2 separate regions of the Homo sapiens genome follow, and region 2 is linked to region 1. The links are contacts of gene promoters, found by promoter capture Hi-C in human tissues and cell types (Jung and others, 2019). All regions are on one chromosome and are shown on one strand. The core of a region is centred on a gene start or on the middle of the fragment in contact, and the rest is flanking DNA. Distances in the headings are between cores, read along the strand shown.

Region 1 (7,088 bases), core at 4,589-7,088:
GTAATCACACCATTTTGCGGGGCGGGGCAGAGGCTGGAGGACTGCTTGAGCCCAGAAATTCGAGACCAGCCTGGGCAACATAGTGAGACCCCATGTCTTAAAAAAAAAAAAGCCAGTGTGATAGGTGGCACCTGTAGTCTCAGCTAAGCTACTCAGGAGGCTGAAGCGGGAGGGTCACTTGAGCCGAAGAGGTCGAGGCTGCAGTGAGCCATGATCCTGCACCTGGTGACAGAGGTAGACCCTGTCTTAATAATAATCCAGCCTGGCCAATATGGTCAGACTCCGTCTCTACTAATAACACAAAAAATTAGCCAGCCATGGTGGTGCTTGCCAGTAATTCCAGCTGCTTGGGAGGCTGAGGCACTAGAATCACTTGAACCCAGGAGACGGAGGTGCAGTGAGCCGTGATCGTGCCACTGAACTCCAGCCTGGGTGGCTGAGTGACACTCCGTCTCAAATAATAATAATAATAATGGTACCTACCTCATGAAGTTGTGAGATTAAACATGAAGTTGTAAGGTTTAAGCTATATATATTTATTGCCTAATATATATAAAATATATATGTGTTATATATATATAATTTTATTTGTTTTTTTCTTCTGAGATGGAGTCTTGCTCTGTTGCCCAGGCTGAAGTGCAGTAGCATGATCTCGGCTCACTGCAACGTCCGCCTCCCAGGTTCAAGCAATTCTCCTGTCTCAGCCTCCTGAGTAGTTAGGACTACAGGTGTGTGCCACCACCCCCAGCCAATTTTTGTAGTTTGTTTTTTTTTCTTTTTTTTTGGAGACAGGGTCTAGCTCTGTCTCCCAGGCTGGAATACAGTGGCACAATCACAGCTTACTGCAGCCTCAAAACTCCTGGGCTCAAGTGATCCTCCCACCTGAGCCTCCCGAGTAGCTGGGACCACAGGTGCATGCCACCACACCCAGCTAACTTTTAAATTATTTGTAGAGAGGGGGTCTCACTATGTTTCCCAGGCTGGTTCTGAACTCCTGGGCTCAATTGATCCTCATGCCTTAGCCTCCCAAAGTGCTGGGATTATAGGCATGAGCAATCGCACCTGGCCCTAAATTAGGCCGCATTAAAGCTCTTGCTTATTACAATGTCTGGTATACAGTTATTACTCAATAAATGCTCTTCTGGCCGGGTGCAGTGGCTCACACCTGTAATCCCAACACTTTGGGAGGCTGAGGTGGGCGAATCACTTGAGATCAGGAGTTCAAGACCAGCCTGGCCAACATGGCGAAACCCTGTCTCTACTGAAAATGCAAAAATTAGCTGGGAGTGGTGATGCACACCTGTAATCCCAGCTACTCTGGAGGCTGAGGCAGGCGGATCGCTCGAACTCAGGAGGCGGAGGTCGCAGAGAGCGGAGACTGTACCACTGCACTCCAGCCTGGGTGACAGAGCGAGACTCCGTCTCAAATAAGTAAGTAAATAAATAAATGCTATTCCTATTTCTATCCTTCAGACCTAATTTTCCTTTGCTATAAATTGAAAATGTTTAAGCAGTGATTGTTCTGGGGAGCTTGCTCCCCTCCCTGGTGGGTTGCAAGAGAGTCACACTAGGGGTTTTTCAGATAACACACCCTCACCCGAGGCTTTCATTCAACCCCTAAGGCAGTGGCTTTTCAAATCCCTGCTTGGGAATGATGGGGGCAATTTGCCAAAATGCAGATTCCTGGGTCCCAGTGATTCTGACTCAGTACATCTGGAGTTGGCCCCAGAATTCAAGTTGGTTTTTTGAGATGGAGTCTCACTCTGTCACCCAGGCTGGAGTGCAGTGGCACAATTTCGGCTCACTGCAACCTCCGCCTCCTGGGTTCAAGCAATTCTCCTGCCTCAGCCTACCAAGTAGCTAGGATTACAGGTGCATGCCACCACGCCCAGCTACTTTTTTTTTTTTTTTTTTTTGAGACAGTTTCGCTCTCGTTGCCCAGGTTGGAGTGCAATAGCGTGATCTCGGCTTACCGCAACCTTTGCCTCCCAGGTTCAAGCAATTCTCCTGCTTCAGCCTTCCAAGTAGCTGGGATTACAGGCATGCGCCACCATGGTTGGCTAATTTTGTATTTTTAGTAGAGACAGAGTTTCTCTCTGTTGGTCTGGCTGGCCTCAAATTCCCAACCTCAGGTGATCTGCCCGCCTCCGCCTCCCAAAGTGCTGGGATTACAGGCATGAGCCACCACGCAGGGCCAGAATTCAGGTTTTAACCAATGTTCTGGATGTAAATGGTACACAGAATCTGCGTATTGGGGGTGGGGAGGGGCACAACCCCCTAAGAGTCTCTCTTGCTCCTGGACGGCATGATGGGAAGTGACCTGTTCCACTTGTCGAGAACTAGTGGACCCCATGTTTCCCTCTAGCTTGGACACTATGGTTCTCAGGAGGAATCCTCACCCCCGGCCAGGAGCCCTTCTCCTCCACCTACTACTGCTGGGCTCTACCTCCCCCACTTTTAATTTTAAGCCTTGGCTCAAAATTCACTCCCCAATATTTCTCCCCTTCTCTCTACTTTCGTCCTCAATAATCCCAAGCAGCTGGGGTGTACAAGTCGTTTTCACCTCTTGGGACCGTGCTAAAGGGGGCAGCCTATGATTACCATGAGGGTATGGGAGCCCTGAACTGCAAATCTATCATTTCCAGAGAAGCCAGAAATCTGAAATTTTCTGTGCAATTTCTGAAACTTTAAATCAGAATTTTTTCTAAAATTCAATGGGTCAGATACCACAGTCTGTGTAATCAATCCATTCCAAAGTCTCCTCCTTTTGCTAAAGGAGAAGATTCCTTAAAACAAGGCAGAAGCCAACTGAAGCAAGGGAGAACCACCTCCCACCCCTCCCCACACACACTTTCCACACCCAGTAACTAGGTCTCTGGGCGGATAATTCTGTTTTGTTTTGTTTTTTTTAATTTTGGACAGCTAATCTCTGTAGTGAGGAACCCAGAACTTTCGGTAATGTAAGGGATATTAGTCTGGTTGTCAGAAAAATGGGCTGGAGTATTTGTGCTGTGTCCCTGACCATAATTCCTGCTCAGTTGCTTAGCTCCCTGGCAACTATGTCTGAGGGCTAAACAGGAGTTGGTGTGATCTTCCAGAAAAAGAACAGGCTTCTTGTCTTGCAGAGGCAGGAAGTCAGAAAACAAGAGTGTGTGTGTGTGTGTCAGGGGGTGGGGGGTGTCAGGTGGCACTGGAAATGGGAGGGAACTCATTAAGAGTGGGCAATTGGCCAGGTGAGGTGGCTCACGCCTGTTAATTCCAGCACTTTGGGAGGCCAGGACAGGTGGATTGCTTGAGCTCGCAAGTTGGAGACCATCCGCACAACATGGTGAGACCCCTTCTCTACAACAAATACAAAAATTAGCCAGGCATGGTGATTTGCGCCTGCAGCCCCAGCTGCTTGGGAGGCTGAGGTGGGAGGATGGATGGCTTGAGCCCGGGAGGTGGAGGCTGTCAAGATTGTGCCACTGCACTCCAGCCTGGGTGATAGAGTCAGACCTTGTCTTTAAAAGTAAAGAAAACAAAAAAAGAGTGGGCAATCCTAGGTAGGTGCAGTGGCTCAGGCCTATAATCCTAGCACTTTGGGAGGCTGAGGCAGGTGGATTGTTTGAGCTAAAGAGTTTTGAGACCAGCCTGGGCAACGTGGCAAAACCCTATCTCTACAAAAAAATATAGAAATTAGCCAGGCGTGGTGGCGCATGCCTGTAACGCCACCTACTCAGGAGGCTGAGACAGAACTGCTTGAACCCAGGAGGCTGAGGTTGCAGTGAGCCAGGATCTTGGCCACTGCTCTCCAGCCTGGGTGACAGAGTGAGCCTGTCTCAAAAAAAAAAAAAAAAAGAGTGAGCAATCCTCAAAGTATCCAAGAACAACTACACGCCCCAAGGGGAAAACCAGCTGGATTGCTTAGGCCTTGGCTGTAGTCACTAAAGAATGGCATCAATCTCAGAAACCCTCAAGATGGGGTCAATTTAGGAAGAAGCTGTTTATTCTGTACTGTCTTTGGCCTCCACCTAAGGTCTGGCATCGACCCACCCTTCAGGCTCATAGTTCAGCGAGGTTAGAGCACTTAGGGAGAAGCAGGTAACACATCCAGGGTTTGAGAGAAGACCAGCACACAACTCTCAGTGATCTGGATAGAGGAAGACTAAATTACTGTGGTTCAGGCAGCCTTGCCAGGTGATGTCTTCCCAAAACTTCTCAGATGTATATTCCTCCCTGATTGTGCCACCTAGGCCTCCTTCCCTTCAGTTTGGGACTTAAAACTTCCACCAATAACGTGAGTATGTGCACCCATGCAGCAGCCTGTCCGAGGACTCACAACTGGAGACACCTCCCTGCTTGGCGCTGCCCAGAAAACTATGTAGATGGCCAAGAAACCGACTTCCATTATAAAATGTTTTTCTGTGTGTACCAGGAAAAAGATGCTCAAAATCCAAATCACCACTTTATTATGTGGCAGTCACCATGGTGCCAGCCTCTGCCTTCCCCATGTCACCCTCCTAATCCAGGGCTCTCCAACCATATTCATGTTTGCGTTTTCACAAGTCAATGTCCATTAAGGCCTTGTGCTCCCCTTTTCTTCAGTACAGGGCAGGGCCCTTATAATTTGGGTCTCAAGAATTGATAGTTGTCTCTTAACTGGTTCTGGTGAGGCGCACTCACAGCAGTGAGTGGAGGGTCCTGGGAGGGCATGGATGACGGAGGCTGCCCCTAGAGGAGCTGGATGTAGGAGCAGAGACATTTCTTGATCTTTCACTCTGCAAACTGGTCCAAGAACTTGAGGTAGGCCTGACGCTGGGGTGCAGCTGCTGGAATGAAGTGGCCACCAGAGTGGGTGAGGGTGATGGCTCCGGGAAATTGGCTGGCCAGTTGCACACTCTCCTGAGAGGGGATGACTTTGTCAGTGTCCCCAAAAACATGGAGCGAAGGCAATGACAAGGGCCTTTGCAGGATGGATTCCTTGAACCCAATGCCCCGGGGACAGAAACCAGACACCAAGAGGATAAACCGTGGCAAGGGGAAGCGGGGATCGCCTGCCTGGCCCAGGGCACACACAAGGGCTGCTAGCGCAGCCCCTTGGCTGAAACCAAGAAGGCCGTCAAAAGGCCCCAGCCTGTTCAGTGCCTGTGCCACCATCCCCAGTGATTCCTCCAGGCCCCTGCAGACGGCGGGCTCTTCCAATGCGGAGAAAACGTCGGCCTCCTGCTCTGAAAACCACCAGCCTCGAGGCTGCTCCTCCGGAGGGCAGGACCCTACAGCGATATGAGGAAAAAGGATGGGATTAGGGCATGGGAGGCTCCAGGAAGGAAAGAAATGAGAAAGGGCAGGAGGGTTCGAGATGACAGAGAGAAAAAGGGAATCGAGGCAAAAGTCTGGGGGAAATGAGAGGGGGGAAATGAGTGGATTGGCCTGAACAGGAGACAGCGGAGGAAGACGGTGAAGGCGGAAGCCTGGGAGGACAGGCTGCAGTTTGAGCAAAGAGGGTATGGGTCGCGAGAAATGAAGGGTGTGGACTGGGTGGGAGGAATGCGGGTGGACGCAGGGTGGGGGATGCTGAAGGGTGTCGAGGGGGACGAAACAAGATGGAGGAAACTGAGTGCGTTTCCGGAGCGGGGCTTGTCTCACCGAAGTCTGATCTGGCGCCCTCGGGGCCCGGGGGGTCGGGGACCGGGTGCGGGCCGCTGAGGCACACGAGCTCGGCGCGACCCCGCAGCGCCTTCCTCAGCGCCCCGGTCTTCTCACGGAAGCCCCGCTCGCTCTGCCGGAAGCCCGCCAGGCACAGGACCCGCAGGGGTCGCTGCGCGGCCATTATGCCCGGCAAGGAGCGACGGAAGCACCGGAAGCGGTCTTTCCCCGAGCGGAAGCACAATGCACGGGGCGGAACCGAACGTCAGCACCGCCCCGAGGGCGGGCCTCGGAGCGCCAAGGCGTTCCCATGACAACGGCAAAAGGCGGGGCGCACCCAGAGCGGGGGCTGATACCTGAGGCCCGGGAGCGCGTCAAGGAGCCAGCGGCGCCACCTTCTCGTCCCTGCAGCTGCAGTCCTCGCAAGCCACGGCCGAAGGGGGACGCGCGGACCCCTCCTGCACCTGAGGTCGCAGACTTTGGTTAGGGTCTCGCTCCTGCGACCCTGCGTTTCCCTCCGCTCCGCTCCTGTGCGTTTCCCGTCGCGGTCGCAGGGCGGCGGCCAGTGCCCAGGCGCGGTCTCTCCTCCCTCCTGGAAGCCCCCGCCTACCTTCCCCCGCGCGGGCCGGCCCGGGGCGTGGGGACGGCGGTCCTGGCCGTGGTTCACCGTCCAGGGCCCCAAGGAGCTGCCAGCGTAGAAGTCCATCGGGTAGGGCTGCTGCCAGGAAATGTCCCTCAGAGCCACGGCCGCCTAGGGGAGGGGAGGGAGGGACAATAACATCTGCCAGTGTTTTTCTGCCCCTGGATTACTGAATTCAGTCCTCACGACGGCCTGTGAAGGGCACACTGTCCCCTGCCACAGAAGGGAACTGTGTGGTTCAGGGCCTTGCCTAAGGCTACACAGCTAGGAAGTGACTCCGCTGGAGAAATCGAGACAGACTCCGGAATCTACGAACATAACGAAGTGCTGCCCACCCACCCCACTCCACTCCAGACCTCACCTTTGAGAACCACGTCCAAAGCCCACTCTCTCCCAGAGCTTGGTGTTACCTCATAGGGTGTCAGCAGCGGCTTGGGGAAGGCTGTGCCCCAGTCAATGGAGAGACGTGGACATGCCACCTGCACCCACCTGGGAAGGGAAGCCAGGTCAGACCCTAGGAAGGGCCTCCTCGTCGCCCAGGCAGCATGCTGAAGAACATGACAGTGCCCCCAGCACACCCATTCATTAACAGGCTTTATGAATCCTAAAGTAAAGACAGTGACCCACTGCTGTTTGGAATACTGTATTGTTGCGTGTTTTCTCCTGTTTCCTCTGCCGACAATGAGCTTTCCAGGGCAGCTCACTGGTGATAGTATCCCCAGAACCACATTTAGTACCTGGTACAGGGCAGGTGTCAGCCACCGCTCAAACTCATCTCACAAGGACAAATGTGATGTTGCCATTGCCTCTGAGCCCCAAA
Region 2 (7,088 bases), core at 1,790-4,289, 84 kb before region 1:
CCTGACCTCAAGTTTGCAATAGTGGGTATACAATGCTTGGAGAGGCTGTTAGAATAACAAATTGGCAGGATAGTGGCATACAGAATACAGCATAAGGCAGTTGGATTGGCGTATAGGTTAATACCGTTGACATCAGAATCCGGTGGTTTTTAATCTAACTCTAGAGCCATCCTGTCCAGTACCACTTTCTGCAGTGGGGAAAGTGTTCTACTTGACACCGTCTAGTATGGTAACTACTGGCCGCATGTAGCTGTTGAACACATGAAATGCGGCTGGTCTACCTGAAGAAATGATTTTTTTTAATTGTGGTAAAATATACACAACATAAAATTTACCATTTCGTGCCCTCCCTGCACTTGACCGCCGCTGCTCCGTGCCGGCAGCCTGGGGACTGGGAGCACTCGTGCCTTGGGTATGCCGCCCCACTGGCTGGACAAAGCGGCGCGTGGATGTGCCTGTGGGGCCTTGCCCTGGGCATCGCTGCTGCTGCCAGCGCCCTTCACCCATGCTTCAGCATGGTGCCTATACTCACTTCCTGCAGGAGTCTGCTGGATACCTGCAGCTGGAGCACAGGAGAGATTTCAGCTCTTCTGGGAGTAGGAAGCTCTCCTTTGACACTCGTTCCTTAGTGTGCTTTCTGGAAGACCATGGGTTTGCTACTCAGCAAGCAGAAATCATTGTGTCTGCATTGGTCCAGGTACTGGAGGCCAACGTGGACATCGTCTACAAAGATATGGCCACCAAGATGAAGCAGGAGATCGCTCTTCAGCAAATAATGTCTCAGACTGTGAATGTGAAAAACGATATGATTACTTTGGAGAAGAGTGAATTTTCAGCCCTCAGAGCAGAACGTGAGAAAATAAAACTCAAACTACATCAGTTAAAACAAGTAATGGATGAAGTGATTAAAGTCCGAACAGATACTAAATTAGACTTCAACCTAGAAAAGAGCAGAGTAAAAGAATTGTATTCGTTGAATGAAAGGAAGCTGCTGGAATTGAGAACAGAAATAGTGACATTGCATGCCCAGCAAGATTGGGCCGTCACCCAGAGAGATAGGAAGATAGAAACTGAGGATGCTGGCCCCAAAACCATGCTTGAGTCATACAAGCTTGATAATATTAAATATTTAGCAGGGTCTATATTTACGTGCCTAACAGTAGCTCTGGGATTTTATCACCTGTGGATCTAATAAAGTGTCTATTTAAAGAGGGGGGGAAAAGGATTTACCATTTCAACCATTTCTTAAGTGTACAACTCAGTGGCATTAAGTACATTCACAGTGTTGTGCGACCATCACTACTATCCATTTCCAGAACTCTTCATCATTCCAAACGCCGTAACCATTACACAGTAACTCCTCATTCCCCCTTCCCCTGGCAACTTCTACTTTCTAGCTCTATGCATTTCCCTATTGTAAGTATCTCATATAAGTAGAATCATGCAATATTTGTCTTTTTTTTTTTTTTTTTTTTTTTGAGACAAGGTCTCTCTGTGTTGCCCAGGCTGGAGTGCAGTGTCACCATTACGGCTCACTGCAGCCTCGAACTCCCAAGCCCAAGGGATCCTCCCACCTCAGCTTCCTAAGTAGCTGGGACCACAAGCACGTACCACCACACCCAGCTAATTATATGCACGCGTGTGTTCACGCGTATATGTGTGTGTGTGCATGTGTGCGCATGTGTGCATGTATGTTTGTGTCTGTGTGCATGTGTGTGCGTGTGTGTGTAGAAATAGGGTCTCCCCATGTTGTCAAAGCTTCTCTTGAACTCCTCAGCCTCGAGTGATCGTCCCACCATAGCCTCCCAAAGTGCTGAGATTACTGGTGTGAGTTTCCACCTTTGATGCACAAAAGTGTTTAATTTTGATAAAGTCCAGTTTGCTTTTTTTTTTTTTTTTTTGAAACTGAGCCTCACTCTGTTGCCCAGGCCAGAGTGCAGTGGCTTGATCTTGGCTCACTGCAACCTCCACCTCCCGGGTTCAAGTGATTCTTGTGCCCCGCCTTTCAAATAGCTGAGATTACAGGGGCCCACCTGGCTAGTTTTTGTATTTTTAGTAGAGATGGGGTTTCACCATGTTGGCCAGTCTGGTCTCAACTCCTGACCTCAAGTGATCTGCCTGCCTCAGCCTCCCAAAGTGCTGGGATTACAAATATGAGGCACTGTGTCTGGTCTGCTTATTTTTTTCTTTTGTTTCCTATGCTTTTGATGTCATATCCAAGAAATCATTGCCAAATCCAGTGTCATAAAGATTTTCCCTTATGCTTTCTTCTAAGAGTTTTCTAGTTTTAGCTCTTTTTAGGTCTTTGATCCATTTTGAATTTGTTTTTGTATATGGTCTTAGGTAAGGGTTCAGCTTCATTCTTTTGCATGTGAATATCCAGGTTTTTTTAAGCTCTTTTTATTGAAAAGACTATTCCTTCCATAAGATTGGAATTGGTCTTGACACCCTTGTCAAAAGTCAGTTGACCCTGTATTTGTGAGAGTTTACTTCTAGGTTTTCTGTTCTATTCTATGCCAGTACCACACCGTTTTGATTAGTATAGTTTTGCAGTAAGTTTTGAAATCCAGAAGCATGAGCCCTTTAACTTTTGTTCTTTTTCACGATTAATTTGGCTGTATGGGGTCCCTTAAGATTCCATATGATTTTTTTTTTTTTTTTTTTGAGATGGGTTCTCACTCCATCTCCCAGGCTGGAGTGCAGTGGCACAATGTCAGCTCACTGCAACCTCTGCCTCTCAGGTTCAAGCGATTCTTGTGCCTCAGCCTCCCAAGTACCTGGGATTACAGGCATGCGCCACCACACCCAGCTGATTTTTGTATTTTTAGTATAGACGGTGTTTTGCCATGTTGACCAGGCTGGTCTCCAACTCCTGACCTCAAGCAATCTGCCCGCTTTGGCCTCCCAGAGTGCTGGGACTACTGGCATGAGCCATTGCATCCAGCTAGATTCCATATGAATTTTAAGATGTTTTTATGGATCTGTGGAAAATGCCATTGGGATTTTGATAGGAACTGCATTGAATCTGTAGATTGCTTTGGTTACTGTAGTCAGCTTAACAATATTAAGTCTTCCAATTCATGAACATAGAATGTTTTTCCATTTATTGGAACTCCGTTTTTAATTATATTCAATTTTAGGAAATTTAAATTTGTTTGGCCATATTGTAGCTAATCATCATCCTATTGGCCAGCAAGCCCAAGAGAATTATCCTCAGATTTTCTTTTCTTCCTAAATCGTAGGATCGTAGTGACGTCTTCAGAGGCCTTGTAGTATCTGAATCATCATTGGTCTCAGGATGTCTGGATTGTATGGAATGCATGGTTAGAAGGGTGAATAAATAGGGGGTTTCGGTCCCTCCAGGTTATCTCTGTCTCGGAGATATGAGAGGGCTACAAGTCTTGCCACATCAGACCCTGTCTCCTTCTCTATTTTCCCTTTGGAAATGTCTGTTTTTCTCCAGAGCCAAAGAGAACCTCTTGTTTTCCAAAAAATTAGCAAAAAGTAGACTCTGCTCTGGCAGGAATGGAACTCCTTCTGCCTCTTCCTATTTCCATAGAAGAAGAGACCATAGTGCCCCAAATGAGGTGTTTTTAAAAGAAATTCCTTCTCCAAATGGAGATGCTGATTATTTTATAGCAGCGTATGTACCTTGTTCATCATTCTGATGGGGTTCTCATGGGAACAGCAACAAAAAATGCCTTTCGGTGCCAATCATGGTTGTGCTCCCAATTGCATTTTCCTTGAGGGTCAGCAGTCTAAGAGATGCCTGCACGTTAGAAACAAAAAATAAAGAATAAACGCTGTAAATAATTAATTAAACCAGGAAACCCCCTTTCAGTGTCCATTCGTTTTTCTGCCATGTAAGAAGTAATGGTAGGATGCGGAAGACCTGTGTCCTTAGTACTGTTCCGTCTCCCTGCTGCCCCTTCCCCAGCTTCTCTCTAATGACTCCCCGGGGAGATCACAGGTCTCAGAGTAAACAGGAAACCTGACTAAGTAAAATAGGGAGTCTTAGAGCCTAGAGGGTAAGAGACACAGCTCTCCAGGAAGAAGATGCCTTTGGCCTTGGACAGCCAGGAGCAGTGGGTTTGTGGGGTTTTATATAAACACTCTGTTACGACTCTCTGCGGAGGAACCCTCCAATCCACTTTAGGCCAGAAATGGAACTTTGTTCCCTGGCCTGCCCATGACTACTCTACATCAGTCTCTCCTGAAAAGAGGCTAGAATATTACTTGTGTATTCAGAATTGGACTAACCCAGTAGTTAGCCAGTTCGCTAAAACTGATTTCTCTACCTTACTGCCCTGTGGCCTGTACCCCACCCTTATTGTCACCCCTTTCTTTGTACAGAGATAACTTCTTTACTGTAGCATTTGGGATTTCCCACACTACAGTTGATCTGTCACCGCACTACCAAAATGCCTCTGCCAACCACTTGGGTGTCCTGGTGTCAGAAGTTAGAAGTGCCCCAACTGTCCCACCCAGCCTGCTCAGCTCTCCTCTCTCTCTCCTGGGTTGTTGTTCTGGAATGATATTCCTCTTGGATTCAGTGTGTGCAGTCTGATTTGGGTGGAGCCTTGAGCTGTACACAGGAGTGCTGGTAATGTCTGGCCTTCAGTGCTGCCAAAGGCAAGAAGCTGGCCTCTCAGTGTAAAGCACATAGTTGGATTGCTGGGGCAGTGTTAAATGGAGGGTGGGGTGAGCAGATAGCACTCTCTTCCTGCTCTGTTTTCAGGAAGTGATTATAAAAGCAGCTCTAAGTTTGAATGAAATCAAAAGAATGAATTGTCACCTTCCCCCAACAAAAACCAGATGAGCACAAACATATACACAAACACACTCCTCCTCTGCACTCCATCCAAGATCCACACCCTGGCTCTGCCGGGCTTCACTTCGGTGCTATTTCAGAGCAAAGAGCCTTTGTTGTGCCATCTCCATTCTCTTCCCTGGGAGAGAGCTTAGTAGTCTTATGAATGAGAGCTCGACTTCCCTTTTGGCATACTGTGGGTTTCACTTCCCTGTCCTCTCTCCTTCCAAGAAGAGTGTGGGCAGAAGTGTATAGGTGGGAGGAATAACCATTGCCAAGATTTAATTCATCAGTTAGGGATTGGGGTTTCAGAACTGGTAATAAAATTGTTTGCAGTTAATTGTCAATGAAAGGAGTTTCTGTGCCGTTAACACACTTCCATTCCTTCCTTCCAGCTGCCTCTTTCCGTCGTACTGCCTTTTTCCTGGTACCTCCATGGGGTTTAAGCCATATGGCTCTTAGGAATATCGTTTGGAGTCTCCAGAAGTGGAAGATTTGGCTGTGCAGCACACAGCACCCCTGGGTCTACTCCTCCCCTCCCCTCTCAGCAGCTGTTTGCCACTGACCGAGGTGGCGACCAAGCCTATGTGTGTGGCCAGAGTCAGTGACAAGCCTCCCACCCAGGCCTGGGGAAGCCCTTAGCCAGCGCGGTTCCTGAGGCAGCCGCCAACACGCCAGGGTTTCCTCATACCTTCAGGGCTGCGGTGGAGCAGCCAGCGTTATGCGGCAGCATTGTCTAGCGTTGCTTCACTTGACTTCTCTGTCCCCACCCTCTGTGTTTAAGGGAATCTGGCCATCATCCAGCAGGGAAGAAGCTGGCATTTACAGAGAGTGGCTTTCTGCCACCCCTCATGTGGTAGGAGCCAGGACCACCTCCATCTCTGCTTCCTACCCATGTGGCAAAGAGGAAGGGGCCCCTCTGTGCTCAGTCTCCTGTTGTGGAGTTTCGAGTTGCCTAAGATGAGAATAAGGCTGTCTGCCAGGTTATCTGCCCAGATAAACATTTATTGTTTACAGGGACATGTTTCAGCTGCTCTGGCACCTCCCACTGGTGAGATCCTCTAGTATCTTGAGGTTTTAAGCCAGTATATGGGGCCGACGTCCAGACACAGAACTACTGGAGCTGGAGAGGCTAAGTGGCTCGCGGCTTCTAACTTAGCTTCGCCATTGCCCCCCGCCCCGCTTCCCACTGCCAGAGCTAGATTTACATCTCTTGTTCTTAGTTCTGCCTCCTGGATATTGAAGCTGCATCTACATTTTAAACCTTTCTAGCCTTTAGAATTTGGGGATTTATATGCGATCCAGTGTTAGGACACAGCAAGCTGAAGACTTCTTTTACATGGCAAAACCAGCCCTCTGACACTGTGTTTTCCTTAATAGCTAATGAGACAGCTGTTTAGTGACGGCAACAGGGATTGATGCAGATTTTCTTTTTTTAATCTGACTAGGTCCACTGCTTCCAGATATTGTCTTTTTATTTTTTTAGTGATGTGATTGATTTTCCAACATTTTATTATACAGCAAAGTTGAACATTCTCCAGTGAGCTCACTTATACCCAGTACCTACATGCTGTGATTCTCATTTTACTGTATTTGTCTTATCATGTTATCTGTTTATTTCTCTCTCTCCCTCTCTTCCCCCATCTATCCACCCATCCATCCATTTTTTCTTCTTTTAAATAATTTTTTTAATGCCTATAATCCTAGCACTTTGGGAGGCCAAGGCGGGCAGATTGCTTGCAGCCAGGAGTTCGAGACCATCCTGGCCAACATGGTGAAACCCCGTCTCTACTAAAAATACAAAAATGAGCTGGATGTGGTGACGGGCACCTATAATCCCAGCTATTCAGGAAGCTGAAGCATGAGAATTGCTTGAACCCAGGAGGGCAGAGGTTGCAATGAGCTGAGATTGCGCCATGCACTCCAGCCTGGGCGACAGAGTGAGACTATCTCAAAAGAAAAGAAAAGAAAAGACCAGCCTGGGCAACATGGCGAAACCCCATCTCCACAAAAAATACAAAAATTAGCCAAATGTAGTGGCTAGCACCTGTTGACCCAGCTACTCGGGAGAGCTGCTTTAGTAGCCCAGGAGGTCAAGGCTGTAGTGAGCCCAAAATCATGCTACTGTACTCCAGCCTGGGTGATACTCTCTCTCTCTCTACACACACACACACACACACACACACACACACACACACACACACACACACACACACACAGACAGACATGTACATATATACATATATGTGTGTGTGTGTATATATAAATAATCATATAA

The links. The method cuts DNA at HindIII sites, captures the fragments that hold promoters and counts their contacts. A contact is called where the count stands out against the background at its distance.
Region 2: a fragment that was not itself captured here is called in contact with the fragment with the promoter of OVCA2 in region 1 in 2 of the 25 tissues and cell types used here (aorta and thymus).

What each region holds. Positions count from the first base shown.
Region 1 is chr17:2,040,772-2,047,859 of GRCh38, reverse strand. OVCA2 (OVCA2 serine hydrolase domain containing) reads right to left here and starts at 5,838. Exons shown (of 2, transcript NM_080822.3): 1 at 5,629-5,838; 2 at 4,435-5,255. The coding sequence starts at 5,812. The coding sequence ends at 4,756. DPH1 (diphthamide biosynthesis 1) reads right to left here. Exons shown (of 13, transcript NM_001383.6): 10 at 6,679-6,757; 11 at 6,239-6,379; 12 at 5,985-6,092; 13 at 3,962-5,255. The coding sequence ends at 6,003. RefSeq lists silencers at 5,536-5,735, 6,246-6,335 and an enhancer at 5,926-5,985. The HindIII fragment of the contact is 24,727 bases long and covers 1-7,088 here.
Region 2 is chr17:2,121,529-2,128,616 of GRCh38, reverse strand. All of the region lies in intron 13 of SMG6 (SMG6 nonsense mediated mRNA decay factor), which reads left to right. It also overlaps the pseudogene MCUR1P1. Among named protein-coding and RNA genes, the nearest start is that of SMG6-AS1, 35 kb to the right of the region's middle. RefSeq lists enhancers at 4,664-4,713, 5,919-5,978. The HindIII fragment of the contact is 3,207 bases long and covers 1,436-4,642 here.